Linked DNA regions of Homo sapiens: all the other regions are linked to region 1. The links are contacts of gene promoters, found by promoter capture Hi-C in blood cells and fetal thymus (Javierre and others, 2016). All regions are on one chromosome and are shown on one strand. Each heading gives the region's core, a stretch centred on a gene start or on the middle of the fragment in contact. The rest is flanking DNA. Distances are from core to core; before and after follow the strand shown.

Region 1 (2,976 bases), core at 416-2,915:
TCATGAATAAGTTCAAGGAAAGGTACTGTGCCCGGATGTGCACGTAGGCTAAATTTATGTTTCTCTTTACCCAAACATGTCATTGTAGCAAAGAGTAACAGAGCAGCAGCGCTAGATTTATGTTTCTCTTTACCCAAACATCTCAGTGTAGGAAAGAGTAACAGAGCAGTATTGCTGCCAGCATTCTTGCTTCCAGGCAGTTTTCTCCTATCTCAGAATAGAACAAAAGGGAATGGTTGGCTTTACAATGAGACATTCCATTCCCAAAGACGAGCAGGAGACAGAAGGCTTCCTCTTATCTCAACTGCAAAGAGGCCTCCCTCTTTACGACTCCTCAGCACAGACCCTTTATAGGTGTTGGGCTGGGGGACGGTAAGGTCTTTCCTTTCCCATGAGGCCATATCTCAGGCTGTCTCAGTGGGGGGAAACCTTGGACAATTCCCAGGCTTTCTTGGGCAGAGGTCCCTGCGGCTTCCCGCAGTGCATTGTGTCCCTGGTTAATCGAGAATGAAGAATGGCGATAACTTTTACCAAGCATACTGCCTACAAACATATTAACAAGGCACATCCTGCATAGCCCTAAATCCATTAAACTTTGATTCATTACAGCACATGTTTCTGTGAGCACAGGGTTGGGGCTAAAGTTACAGGTTAACAGCATCTCAAAGCAAAAACAATTTTTCTTAGTACAGATCAAAATGGAGTTTCTTATGTCTTCCTTTTCTACATAGACACAGTAACAATCTGATCTCTCTCTCTTTCCCCCACAGTTTTTGTATTTTTAGTAGAGACTGGGTTTCACCATGTTGGCCAGGCTGGTCTCGAACTCCTGACCTCAGGTGATCCGCCCACCTCGGCCTTCCAAAGTGGGATTACAGGCGTGAGCCACCGCCTCCTATTGACTTTTAAAAGGCGGTTGAGTGTGGCTCAGGGGTCACACGCCTGAGCATCCAAGTGGCCCTTCCCCCACTGCCCAATGAGCAAGTAGATTTGGATGCAACAAAAACACATATTTCCACGCCATTTTCTTGGGCGTAACGATACTTTCTTGTTTTATTTCTCATGATTCCGTTTCTAGGTCCTAGGCCCGTGCCTGATCCAGGATCCAAGCTCCCGGAAGCTGGCACTGGGCCCGCCCTGGGTAGGCAGCAGTGAGCAAGGCGGGCGGACAGCGCTGGGCTCGCGGGGTCCTGCGTCCTCCGCGGGAGTGTTGGCGGCGGGGGTCGCTCTGCGCGGGGACACTGGGCAGAGGGGGCGTGCGGCCTCTCTAGGAAGCTTTCTCGGAGCCCCAGACACTGGCGAGGCGCCGCGCCCCCTCTTCTGGATTCCGGCGCGCCCCCTGAACCCGGGAGCTACGAGCGGAGTCGCTTCTCCCTGCAGCCGTCCTGGGTCTGGCGCGGACGCACCCCCCGGCCGACCCCGAGCCGCTGCAGCCGGCGCCCCTGCGGCTTCCAACCCGCGCTGCTCCGCCCGCAGCGGAGGCCCCGCACTTCGCGCGCTAGGGGTTTGGGTTCCGGACGCCCAGCCCGGAGCCGAGCCGCCAGCCGCCCGCATCCCGGGCCACTAGGGCCCGCTGTCGCCCCTGCAGCCACGCTCACGCGGCGGCGCTGCGCAGGCGCAGAAGCCCGGAACCTTCCCGCCCAGCTTCTGGGCCCGGCCGGACTGAGTTCGCTGCTGTCCCGGTTCCTCTCGAGTCGGCTCCAACTGCCAGGTGGGCGGCCGGGCGGGCGGCCGAGGCGGCAGCGCGAGGCCGGGGAGGGGCGCGGTGCGGGGCCGGGCTCCTGCGTGGGCGACCCCGCTCACCCTTCCTCTCCCGGCCTTGCGCAGCCCGGGTTGGCGCCATGTACGCCGTGTACAAACAGGCGCATCCGCCCACCGGTCTGGAGTTCTCCATGTACTGCAACTTCTTCAACAACAGCGAGCGCAACCTGGTAGTGGCCGGGACCTCGCAGCTCTACGTGTACCGCCTCAACCGCGACGCCGAGGTAGGTCGGGCCCTGGGAGCCCTCCCGGCTGTCCGCGACGTGGGTGCTCTCACCGCCCCCGGTTGCAGATGGAAGAGCCAAGCCCCAGACAAGTTGAGTGATTTGCTTAACGTTCCTCAGCCTGAGGAGCCAGGACATGACCCTGAATCTCTTGTGCTCAGATCCTTTCTCACAGCTGCTACCCTGTTCTGCCTCCCTTCCTACCCCACCGGGAAGGGCGCGCTGCCCTAGCCGTCTTGTTTGCTCTTCCGTTTTTTCAGCAAGTTGTTCGGAAGGAGCGAACGCCCACTGTGCGCTGGGTAGCAGAGATACCATGTGAACCACACCTGCAGACACTTGGGGAAGGGGAACATCTAAATAAACACACCTGCCCCTGCAGCAAGTGCTGCTGCGGGAATAAAGGAGTGAAGGAAGGAGACTGTGTATTTCCAGTCGCATGATCAGAAGAGCCTGTCTGAGGCAGAGCGGGAGTTTGTCGGGGGAAGGACATTGGTAGCACAAGGAACAAGGCCAGGTCTAGGATGGGGACAGACTGTTGACAGGAGTCTTGGTACAGTGGGGCACACGCCTCAAGGGTTTGGGAAATACAGTGGTGTTTTGGTTGCCGGAGGGTTGAAAGCTGGTCCAGGAAAGCAACTTGCAAGAGGCAGTTTCTCCATTGCTCTTGAAGGGAGGAGTACCTCTTACCCAGGCCCAGGGATGGTGAGAGGAGGGTGTTCCAGGCAGAAGAAACAGCCTGTGCACAGGCCCAAAGCAGTTGAGGGTGGAGAGACATGCACAGTGTGGCCGTGGTATAGACTGGATGTGGTGGTGGGGATGGAGGGAGGTAGGCCGTGGTCAGGACTATTCTCCACAAAGCAGGGAGGAGCCACAAGAGGGTTGTGAATAGGGGCTGACCCAGCAGGCAGATGGGTCAGAAGCTCAGGCCAAAGGAGGCCAACCCTCCTGGGCACCTACCCCGGCATACATATGTATTTGCTGGCCAGGGCTC
Region 2 (3,081 bases), core at 405-2,904, 470 kb after region 1:
ACACTGTGCCTCAGCAGAGTGGCAGCCCCGTTCCTGCAGGCAGGAGCCACCTGGTCACGGCCGGGCCCCCAGAGCCCATACCCAGCAGGCGCGGGGCTTGGCCTCAGGGTAGCTGCTGGCCCAGGGCTTCTGAAGAGGCGACAGTGTTTCCAGAGGCTTTGGACCCAGGGAGGGGCGGCAGAGGTGTGGGGTCCGGGGTGCCCTTGGGCACAAGACTGGAGGTGCTGACCAGTGCGGGGTCAGATTTTGATTTGGGGGCTTCTGGTGACTCCTGAGGTTCTGGAGGCTGCTGGGCCGGACAGGCAGAGCAAGAGGGTCACCCTGAATCTCATGCCAGGCTCAGAGACCATGCATGGAGACCAAGGGGTGTCTTCGTTGGGCGGCGTGTACGATGTGGCAGAGCCCTAGGGGCTGGCTGTGCCCCTTGGCGTGGAGTGGGGGCTTCCCCACCTCTGAGGGGTTTGGGCACCCCCCATTGTGAGGGTTCTGGTGCCCCCTCACGGCCTCAGGGGCAGTAGGAATGAGGTGGGGTGAGCTCTTCCCAGAACTGAGGCCGAGTGCAGCTCCCAGCTGGACCGAATCTGCCTGATGTGCGGCTGGAACATTCTTGTGGTTGGGGCAGCGCATTCTTTCCTATGGTGGTCGGGTGGGCTGGGCAGGCCCAGAAGCTGGCCAGAGGCAGCTCCGCCCCGGACCCCAGGGAGCCGGAGGCCCCAGCCAGCGCAGGCCCTTTGCCCTTTGCCCTTTACAGCATGAGACTGCTTCCCTTGAGCCCCACCCAGCTGCAAACAGCACCCCCCACCCCTGGGGTCGCCCAGGTCCTGCCTCAGGTGTGGCTTCCCCTCTGTGAGTCACAGGCTTGGGCCCCCTCCCCATCCCTGACTCACTGGCGAGGCCCCTCCTGGGGCTTCCCGATGCTCCATTCCCCCATGAGGCCCGGCCTCCGTGAGTCAGCCCTCAGCTACGCGCCTCCGACGTGAGGTGTCTGCCTGGGGCAGGGTGGGCTCCGCAGGTGGGCACTGCTCCAGGATGTGCCAGGTGGGCAGCTTGGGAGGGGCCAGGCCTGGGGTGGGACCCCACTGGCCCCAGGGCCAGGGCAGGCACCATGGGGCAGGGTGTGCTCCCCGCTTCATGCAGGTCTGTGAAGAGGTGTGATTGGGGGGCTGCAAGAGCTGACAGGCAGCAGGTCCCCTCCCCTCGCCAGGTATCAGCGGCTTCTTGAGTCCGCCCTGGCAGGGTGGGTGGGCAGAGGCTGAAGCAGGGCCTGGCCCAGGCCTGGAGGGAGCTCCAAAGAGAGGCGTGGCCTCAGAGCCCCTCCCGTCGGGGGAGCCCTTCAGTCTGTTGGGGGGTCCTTCTGGGTGGCTGTGGGGACGGCCTGTGTTCCTCTGCGGTCCTGGCACCATTTGGTGTGCAGTGAAGTGCCAGCTCCCCGTGTCCCCAGGTCCCCCTAGGGGGCTGCAGTGGTCGGGGTGGGTGAGGAAACCCCGGTTTCCTGTTTCTGGCGGGCCGAGGGCGTGTCTGTGGGGGAGGGGGCTGCTTGCTCCTTCCCGCCGGGACACTCCCCTCCCTGGCGGCGGCCTGGGCAGGGTGGGGCCTCGGGGGCGGGCCGGCCTCGCCGGGGAGTACAGCAGGCAGGGAGTGGCCGCACCGACTGGGGCTCTGAGCTGAGCCTGTGCCGAGTGAGCGTCTCGTGGGGCCGCCAGCCTTCAGCTGCCTGTGTGCCACACGGGGCTGCCCAGAGCACCGTGCCTGAGGCCGAGGGTCCGGGCGACGAAGGTGTGGGGGCAGCATGTCTCAGCACCAGCTCCGCGTGCCGCAGCCCGAGGGCCTGGGCCGAAAGAGAACCAGCTCGGAGGACAACCTGTACCTGGCTGTGCTCAGGGCCTCTGAGGGCAAGAAAGGTAGCAGGGCTCCCCTCGGGCACCCCCGCCAGGCAGGGCGGGCCCCTGCGGGAGGAAGGCCCACTTCCTGTGGCAGGAAAGCCTTGGCACCGCTGGGGGGCTGGTCTTGGAGATGGGGGTCGGGGGCCAGCCATCCCCACCCAACACGGAGTGGGCCGACAGGCGCCCGCGAGGCTGACGGGGGCCTCCGAGCGTCAGATGTCGGGCCTGGAAGGGCGAGGAACTCTGCGCTCTGGGGAAGGTTCGCTGCCCTGTCAGCAGCACACGCGGCTTCCCTTCCAACACCCCAGCGGGCCCGGGCCCTGGCTCTGCCACACCCCTGCTTGGGTCTCAGTCTGTAGAGGCCGGGGGGGACTGCAGGACGGGACTTGTGTGCCCTGGGCTCAGGGTGCGCCCAGGACCCTCCCATTTCCTCGGGGGAAGAGTCCGGGGTGGGGTGGCTGCACCTGGTGGCGCCTGGGCCCCTGGCACCTGGGTCTCTGCTGTGTGGCTGGGCTGCGGGTGAGGGCGCCTGGGTCTCAGTGTGTGATCTGAGGGAGGCTTTGGGGCTCCCCAGGCAGGACCTGGCCAGCCAGGCTGCTGTGTCTGCACGGTGGTCACCTGAGGGCCCCCGGGGCTTCTCCCAGGCCCCAGGTAAGCTGGTCTTGTCTCCCCCAGATGAGCGGGATCGTGTGCAGAAGAAAACCTTCACCAAGTGGGTCAACAAGCACCTCATCAAGGTTGGTGGCGCATGCTGGTGCGTGTCACAGGGGCTGAGGCTGTGGGAGGCGCTGAGGGAGGGTGGCCCCTGCCGCCCAAGGCTGTCCCCATGCTGCCTGTGTGCTCACCTTTCATCTCTGAAACCTGTTATTTTCTGTCCTCTTTCTTCCCTACGCCTGCTCCTGCCTCTCTCTTCCTCCTCTTCCTTCTGGTCTTTCCTGGTCTCTCCTTGCAGCACTGGCGGGCAGAGGTAGGTGCCTCCGTGGGGCAGGGTGTGTTCCGTGGGCTCCCGGGAGACTCAGCCCCCGCCTCCTTCCCTCTGGGACCAGCACCCACTCTGTAGATCAGCCACTCAGGGCCTATTGGTGGCTCTGGGGGACTGGCCACCTCAGCCGCTGCTGTCCCCACAGGCCCAGAGGCACATCAGTGACCTGTATGAAGACCTCCGCGATGGCCACAACCTCATCTCCCTGCTGGAGGT
Region 3 (2,832 bases), core at 27-2,526, 330 kb after region 1:
CGGATCTGGAAGAGGACAGACACATGAGCCAGGCCCACTCCTTCCAGCTCACACTCCACTGTCCTCTGTGGGTCTGCCTCTCCCTCCACTTTCAATGCCTCAGCAAGGGGCAACTGCGTTACCTCCAAAACAAAGCCCCCTGTTTTGCGCTCTCTGTCTTGCATGTGTCGCCCTCTGGCACCTTTTAATTGGCTTCCTTGTGTCCATCCTTGCCCCATTCCCTGCCAACCCAAGTTTACAAACATCAACGCTGCTTCTGTCTCACCTACACACTCAAATCCTAACTACCTTACAAAGGTTTCACATTACATATGAAATAAGATCCCAAATCATTTCCCTACTCTACAAAACCCTAAGTCCTCACCTCCCCGGGAACCCTCAACCTGATTTGGAGTTATCCCCTCTTTCCCCACCAGCAGTCTTTCTGCTCTGCATAAGTGCCTTGCTTGTTTTCACCACCGTGGTCTTCGCCCTTCTGGTTCCCTCCGCCTGGAAAGCAGAGCTCCCACACTCATGCGCTAAGCAAACACTCTTTCAATACCTTCGCTGGCCAGGCAGTTACAGCGCTGGAAGCACAGTAATGAAACCAGATAGTTTTATGTAAAGTTCCTTTCTTTAGGAAGCTTATGTTCCAGCGAGGAAACAAAGGGGAAAATGCTTAAGCAAAATAGGCATTTGAGATTGTAGGTGCACAAAACAAAGGGTTTATTGTAGGGCGAGAAGTACCGCGTGGATAATAAGGTCGTCTGGGAAGGAGTGACGTCGGAGTAGAGCTGAAAGGAGAGGGAGCGAGTGGGGGAGTGCCTAGCACGTTGAAGAGCCGCAAAGAGGAAGGAGGGCGCAGGGACAGAGGCCGATGAGAAAGGCAGGACCACCGCGCAGCACACTAAGGACTTGCGTTTACTCCGAGTGAGATGCGGTGCTGAGCATCGGCTGTGTAGACTGAGGCGCGCCGGCCGTTGCCCCTCAAGTCCCCGAGCCAGCGCTCAGCCCGGCTGCCCCGCAGCTCCCACGGCCACACGATTCCCCATCCCGCGCGCCCACTCGCCTCGTGCGGGCCGTAGACCACAGCCAGTGCCTTGGTGTTGCCCTGCTCAATGTAGGCCGAGCCGTCAGCCTGCGCGAACACGCCCATCCGCGCCTGGATCTTGCGCAGCTCCCCGGCGCGCCGCCCGTCCACCCGGTAGCCCTGGTCCGACAAGAGCTCCAGCCCCGCCATGCTGCCCGGCCGCCAGGTCCGCTCTCTGCCTACTTCTCTGAGCCGCGGGAGAACTACAGCTCCCGGCGGCTCCGACCGCCCGGAATCTACGGTTTCCGGAGGTCCGCCATCACTTCCGGTTCCGGGGAACTACAGCTCTCCGCGGCCCTGACCTCCGTGGATCTGCGGTTTCCGGCGTTCCGCTGTCACTTCCTGTCCTGGTGAACTGGAGTTCACCGCGGCCCCGACCTCCCCGGATCTACGGTTTCCGGCGGTCCGGCTCTACTTCTGTCTCCGGGGAACTGCGGCGGCGCTATCGGGGAAGCAGCGGCTGGGCCCGCAGCCGTTCCCGGAGCTGTGCCACGGGTGCCAGGAGGTGGGCGCCCGCCGAAGGAGGAATTGCCCAGTCACGCCCTCGTGACCAGTGGTGCCTGCATTCAGCCCTTCCCCGCGCCCCAAGTGTGAAAGTGGAAGGATGAACCCAGTGGGGTGCGACACTGACAGGAGAAGGCATTGAGCGGTCCTAGGAAAGTGACCAGGCTGGTGTCCCAGGATGGTCCACACCTGGCACCTCTCCAGTCCTCTCATGCCCTCCCTTTACACCGAGCTTCCACACTGCAGTCAGGTGGGCCTCCCTTTTCCCTTTGAGGATGCAGATTTCCTCATCCTTTCCAGAGAGGGGTTGTATGTCTGTTTATCTCTTGCCACTTAACCTCAGCGGCTTCAAATAATAAAAATCATTCTATTATTATGTGCTGCAATCTGGGGTTATCTAGGCTCAGCTAGATAGTTTGCACTTAGGATCTCTCCTACAGTTGCTGCCAGATGGTAGCTGGGGCTGCAGCCATCCTAAAGCTTTCTCCCTCACATCTTTGGTGGCTGATGCTGGTGGCGGGCCAGGACCTCATCTGTGCCTGTCAGGCAGCACACCTACATGTGGCTTCTCCATGCAACCAGGGCTTCCTTGCAGTATGGCAACTGGGTTCCAAGGGTAGCCTTCCAGGACAACAAGGTGGACAACATGTGCATGGTATTTTTAGGACCTAACCTCAGAAGTCACATAGTGTCCCTCCTGCCACACTCTGTGGGTCAAGGCAGTCAGACAGATCTGCCCAGGCTTAAGGGATGAGGACAGGGACCCCACCCTTCAGTGGGAGGAGTGTCAATATTAGACTGTAGGAAGAGCAGGCGGGCTAGGGAAATGTGGTCTGCTGCAGGGGCCCAAGTTCAGTTGTCACAGCATCCCCTCCAAGGTGGTTAAGCTCTCCTGAAAGACTGAGGCATGAGAGTGAGTGAGCAAGCCACAACCCTGCTGCTGCAGCTGGTCTGAGGCCATGATGGGTCACCACCCTCTGCCACTTGCCACCCCGGATTCCCCACCCTCTGCTCTACAGCCACTCTGCTTATTGTGGAGCCCTTTTCCCCTTTCAGTCTGAGCTCTTACTGTCCCTGTTCTTACTGAGTCATCGTTTTTTTCGTTTGTTTCTTTGTTTTGTTTTGTTTTTTGAGATGGAGTCTTACTCTGCACCCAGGCTAGAGTGCCGTGGCACAATGTCAGCGCACTGCACCCTCCACCTCCAGGGTTCAAGTGATTCTTCTATCTCAGCCTCCCAAGTAGCTGGGAAGGTGGGATT
Region 4 (2,883 bases), core at 306-2,805, 420 kb before region 1:
GAAGGAGGCAGTCAAGCTTCCTACCATGAGGCTCAGTGGTGGGTGGGCATCCACGTGTTCTGGCCGAGAGACCTGTTGGCAATTATGAAAGGATTAGAGGTCAAGGTGCCAGAAGCCCAACTTCCAGGCTAATCAAGGGGGTACTGTGCTCTCTGCTCCTTTACCTCCAGCCCCAGATTTCTCTAGCAGGGACATGGGGCTGGGCTGAAGCAGCCATGGCACTTGAGTGAAGGAGGCCCACTGAACTCTTGTTCCTCTTTAGAGTGTATGTGTGTGTGGCATGTGTGACTCACTCCACAAAGCCGTAAGAAGTGGATGCCACGTGCCAGGCACTGAGTAATGGGGATACAGTAGTGGACACGAGGACCCTGCCTTCACGAAGCAGTCTGGCGGAGGAAAGAGTTAAATAACCACACAAATAAGCACACTGCAACCACGACAGCGCTCAAGTACAGGGAACTATGAAAGCCACTTAGACTAGAACGTTCAGTGTAATGGGTCACTTCCCCAGGGACCTCGGCCAAGGTAATGGAGGTGGAGAGAGCACTCCAGGCAGCAGGAATAGCATGTGAAAGGGCCTGAAGCAAGAAGAAATGGGGTTGGATGAACCAGTGTGGGTAAATTCCCGGCAGCAAGGGAAGGCAGTGAGCGACTGGAGGTTGGGGAAGGCAGTGAGCGACTGGAGGTTGGAGAAGGCAGGAGCAAAAATGACAAACTGTAGGGAAGACAAGAGTGGACATGGAAACCCCTGCCCTCAAGTACATAAATTCCAGTCTCCAGCTCACCTGTCGCCAGGATGGAACCAGGCACAGGGATGTAATCTGATATAAATCGTTCACCTCAATTAAGCCAATGACCCCAGACCCTCTACCTGCCCAGGCATTCCCCCGGGAGGTCGGAATGGGAAAAAGAGTCTTCGTATGGCAGCTTCTGGCCCAGAAAGTGGTTTGTGGGTGGAAGCCCCAGGTCACCGGCACAGGTAGGCTGATCCCCCCACCTGGCTCCTGACAGTAGGAATGCCCGGAATAGCAACCAGAATTTAGAGAAGACAAACAGCCTACCCCACCCAAGGCACCGTTCCTTCCTCCACTGTCACTTATCCTAGGCCTTCCGGGGCAATAAATAGAAAGAGAAAAGGCTCTAGAAGGAGGTGATTTCGCAGGAGGAGTCAGGGCCCCGGGAGTAGACCCAGGCCTGAAGAAAAGGCCGCAGCTGGAGCTCGCCTTACTCAGGCCCCGGACACCGTGGCCGCCACGAGCGGGGTCTGCGGGGAGCTGCGAGACTCGGCCAAACGAAGCCCACCTCGCGCCGCCGCGGGGGAGGGTGGCTGGGCTCGACCACCTCCCACACCAGGCGCTCAAGGCCCCGCAAAGCCCCCGCGCTTTCCCGCCTGGAGGCCCGGGGGACGCGGGGACCCCAATGCCGAAGGCGGGAGGGCTAAGGAAGCGACCAGGGATCACTCGGACCGAGGGCAACCCGAGTCCGCGCCCGCCGCGCCGACTCACCCTCCCTGAGGACCACCCGAGGCTCGCAAACGCGCGACGCCGCCGGAAACGGGCCTTGGCCACCCGCGTCCGCCCCGCCCCGCAAACTTCCGGCCGCCCTGGGCCGCTCGGAGGCCCGGCCATCTCTGTGGTTCTCAGCCCCGCCTCCCAGGCTCCGGAGAAGGGGTGGAGTCAGAGCCGAGGAGGGGCGAGGCTGGGGCCCGAGGGACAAGAACCTGGGCGGGACCAGAAGCCCAGATAGGCGGGGCTGGCGCCTGGGGGCGGGGTACAGTCAGAGGCGGGCAGGGGGCGGAGCCGCGAGGGAGAGGAGGGCCCAGAGCCCGGAGTGGGCGGTGCCTGAGCAGGGGCGGGGCGGGGCCGGGGCCTGGAGCTGGGGACGCGGGCCGGGGCCGGGAGTTGCGGACTCGCTGGCGGGTGGGAGGAGCGGAGTCGGGGCGAGGCTGGCGGAGATCCAGGGGATCGCCCGGTTGGGCCCTGCGCACCCCGGATCACCAGCTTCGGGCGCTGGTTCCCACCGAGGCTGTTCAGGCGCCGCTCCCCCGCGTCCCTGCGACAGGAGGCGCCTGCTGGGCGCGCTATGGACCCCGCCTCGCGGAGACGCCTGGCTCGGGCCTTGTCCCCAGTGAGCGGCTGGAGCGGCCGCGGGGTCGCAGAGCCTCCGGGACCCCGAGGAAGGGCGCCCCTCGGAGTTGCCCGAGGCCGGGCCCGGCGTCCACTCGCCACTCGCCTCGCCCCTCCCCGGCCCCGCACCGCCCTCCACCCCGCCTCCTTCGGGTTCCTTCTGCGTCCGGCAGAGCCTGCGCGCCTCCCCCGGACGGCCACGGACTCGCAGCCTCGGCGAGGACGCTGCCTGCGTCCCGACTGCCTGGACCTCCCCGCGTGGCTCCCGGCGAAGCCCAGCAGCCGGAGGGTGCCAGGTCCGCCTGACGCGCCCCTCCCCACGGGAAGAACGGGGCGGGGGTCCAGGAGGGACGTAAGCCGGGCTCCCCCGGCGTGTTGATCCGAACCCGCGCGGGAAAACTTGCGCAAACCAAAGGAGGGAAGAGTCAGGCAGCCCCCAGCCCCCCAGGGAGGCCCAGGTGAAAAACAGACGCCGGCCTCGCCTCTCCCGGTGCGGATGATCCCGGCACTCCCACCCCCGCCCCTGCTGCCCCGAGTTCGGCTCCCTCAGCCCCACATCCTCTCTGGTCATCTAAGTGGACTGCAGCTGCTCAGGGAGCATGTCGCGAAGGATAGGGAAGGACAGGGGGTCTGCTTCCCCAGCCGCCCTCCAGACCCCCAGGGCTGGTAGGGGCCGGCAACCCTATGCCCCAACCTGGCCTGCTGCAGGTGAGGGGGGCACACCAGGGTAACACAGGAGCAGGAGGGGGAGAAAGCC

What was found. Contacts are between HindIII fragments. The CHiCAGO score rates a contact against its expected background, and 5 or more counts as called.
Region 2: a contact is called between the fragment with the promoter of PLEC here and the fragment with the promoter of CPSF1 in region 1, in 1 of 17 cell types (neutrophils). The highest score is 6.3, in neutrophils.
Region 3: a contact is called between the fragment with the promoter of EXOSC4 here and the fragment with the promoter of CPSF1 in region 1, in 1 of 17 cell types (neutrophils). The highest score is 7.0, in neutrophils.
Region 4: the fragment with the promoter of ZNF7 here is called in contact with the fragment with the promoter of CPSF1 in region 1 in 2 of 17 cell types (neutrophils and total B cells); the score reaches 7.5 in neutrophils.

Annotation. Positions count from the first base shown.
Region 1 is chr8:144,408,024-144,410,999 of GRCh38, reverse strand. CPSF1 (cleavage and polyadenylation specific factor 1) reads left to right here and starts at 1,665. Exons shown (of 38, transcript NM_013291.3): 1 at 1,665-1,711; 2 at 1,828-1,985. The coding sequence starts at 1,842. RefSeq lists a silencer at 1,199-1,858 and an enhancer at 2,129-2,178. The HindIII fragment of the contact is 8,279 bases long and covers 1,278-2,976 here.
Region 2 is chr8:143,938,170-143,941,250 of GRCh38, reverse strand. It overlaps PLEC (plectin), which reads left to right and starts at 1,654. Exons shown (of 32, transcript NM_201384.3): 1 at 1,654-1,901; 2 at 2,559-2,620; 3 at 3,011-3,081. The coding sequence starts at 1,790. RefSeq lists enhancers at 736-1,030, 1,208-1,267, 1,678-1,917 and silencers at 1,428-1,657, 1,938-2,037. The HindIII fragment of the contact is 38,856 bases long and covers 1-3,081 here.
Region 3 is chr8:144,077,116-144,079,947 of GRCh38, reverse strand. It overlaps EXOSC4 (exosome component 4), which reads right to left and starts at 1,276. Exons shown (of 3, transcript NM_019037.3): 1 at 1,049-1,276; 2 at 1-5. The coding sequence starts at 1,219. MIR6847 (microRNA 6847) reads right to left here and starts at 74; the gene lies at 6-74. It overlaps LOC124902038 (a long non-coding RNA gene), which reads left to right. Exons shown (of 2, transcript XR_007061141.1): 2 at 1-1,949. RefSeq lists enhancers at 1,205-1,504, 1,515-1,564. The HindIII fragment of the contact is 1,430 bases long and covers 626-2,055 here.
Region 4 is chr8:144,826,232-144,829,114 of GRCh38, reverse strand. It overlaps ZNF7 (zinc finger protein 7), which reads right to left and starts at 1,555. Exons shown (of 5, transcript NM_003416.4): 1 at 1,506-1,555; 2 at 25-72. The coding sequence starts at 27. It overlaps LOC100130027 (a long non-coding RNA gene), which reads left to right and starts at 2,075. Exons shown (of 5, transcript NR_147501.1): 1 at 2,075-2,883. RefSeq lists enhancers at 326-851, 852-1,377, 1,378-1,903 and a silencer at 1,235-2,364. The HindIII fragment of the contact is 9,547 bases long and covers 19-2,883 here.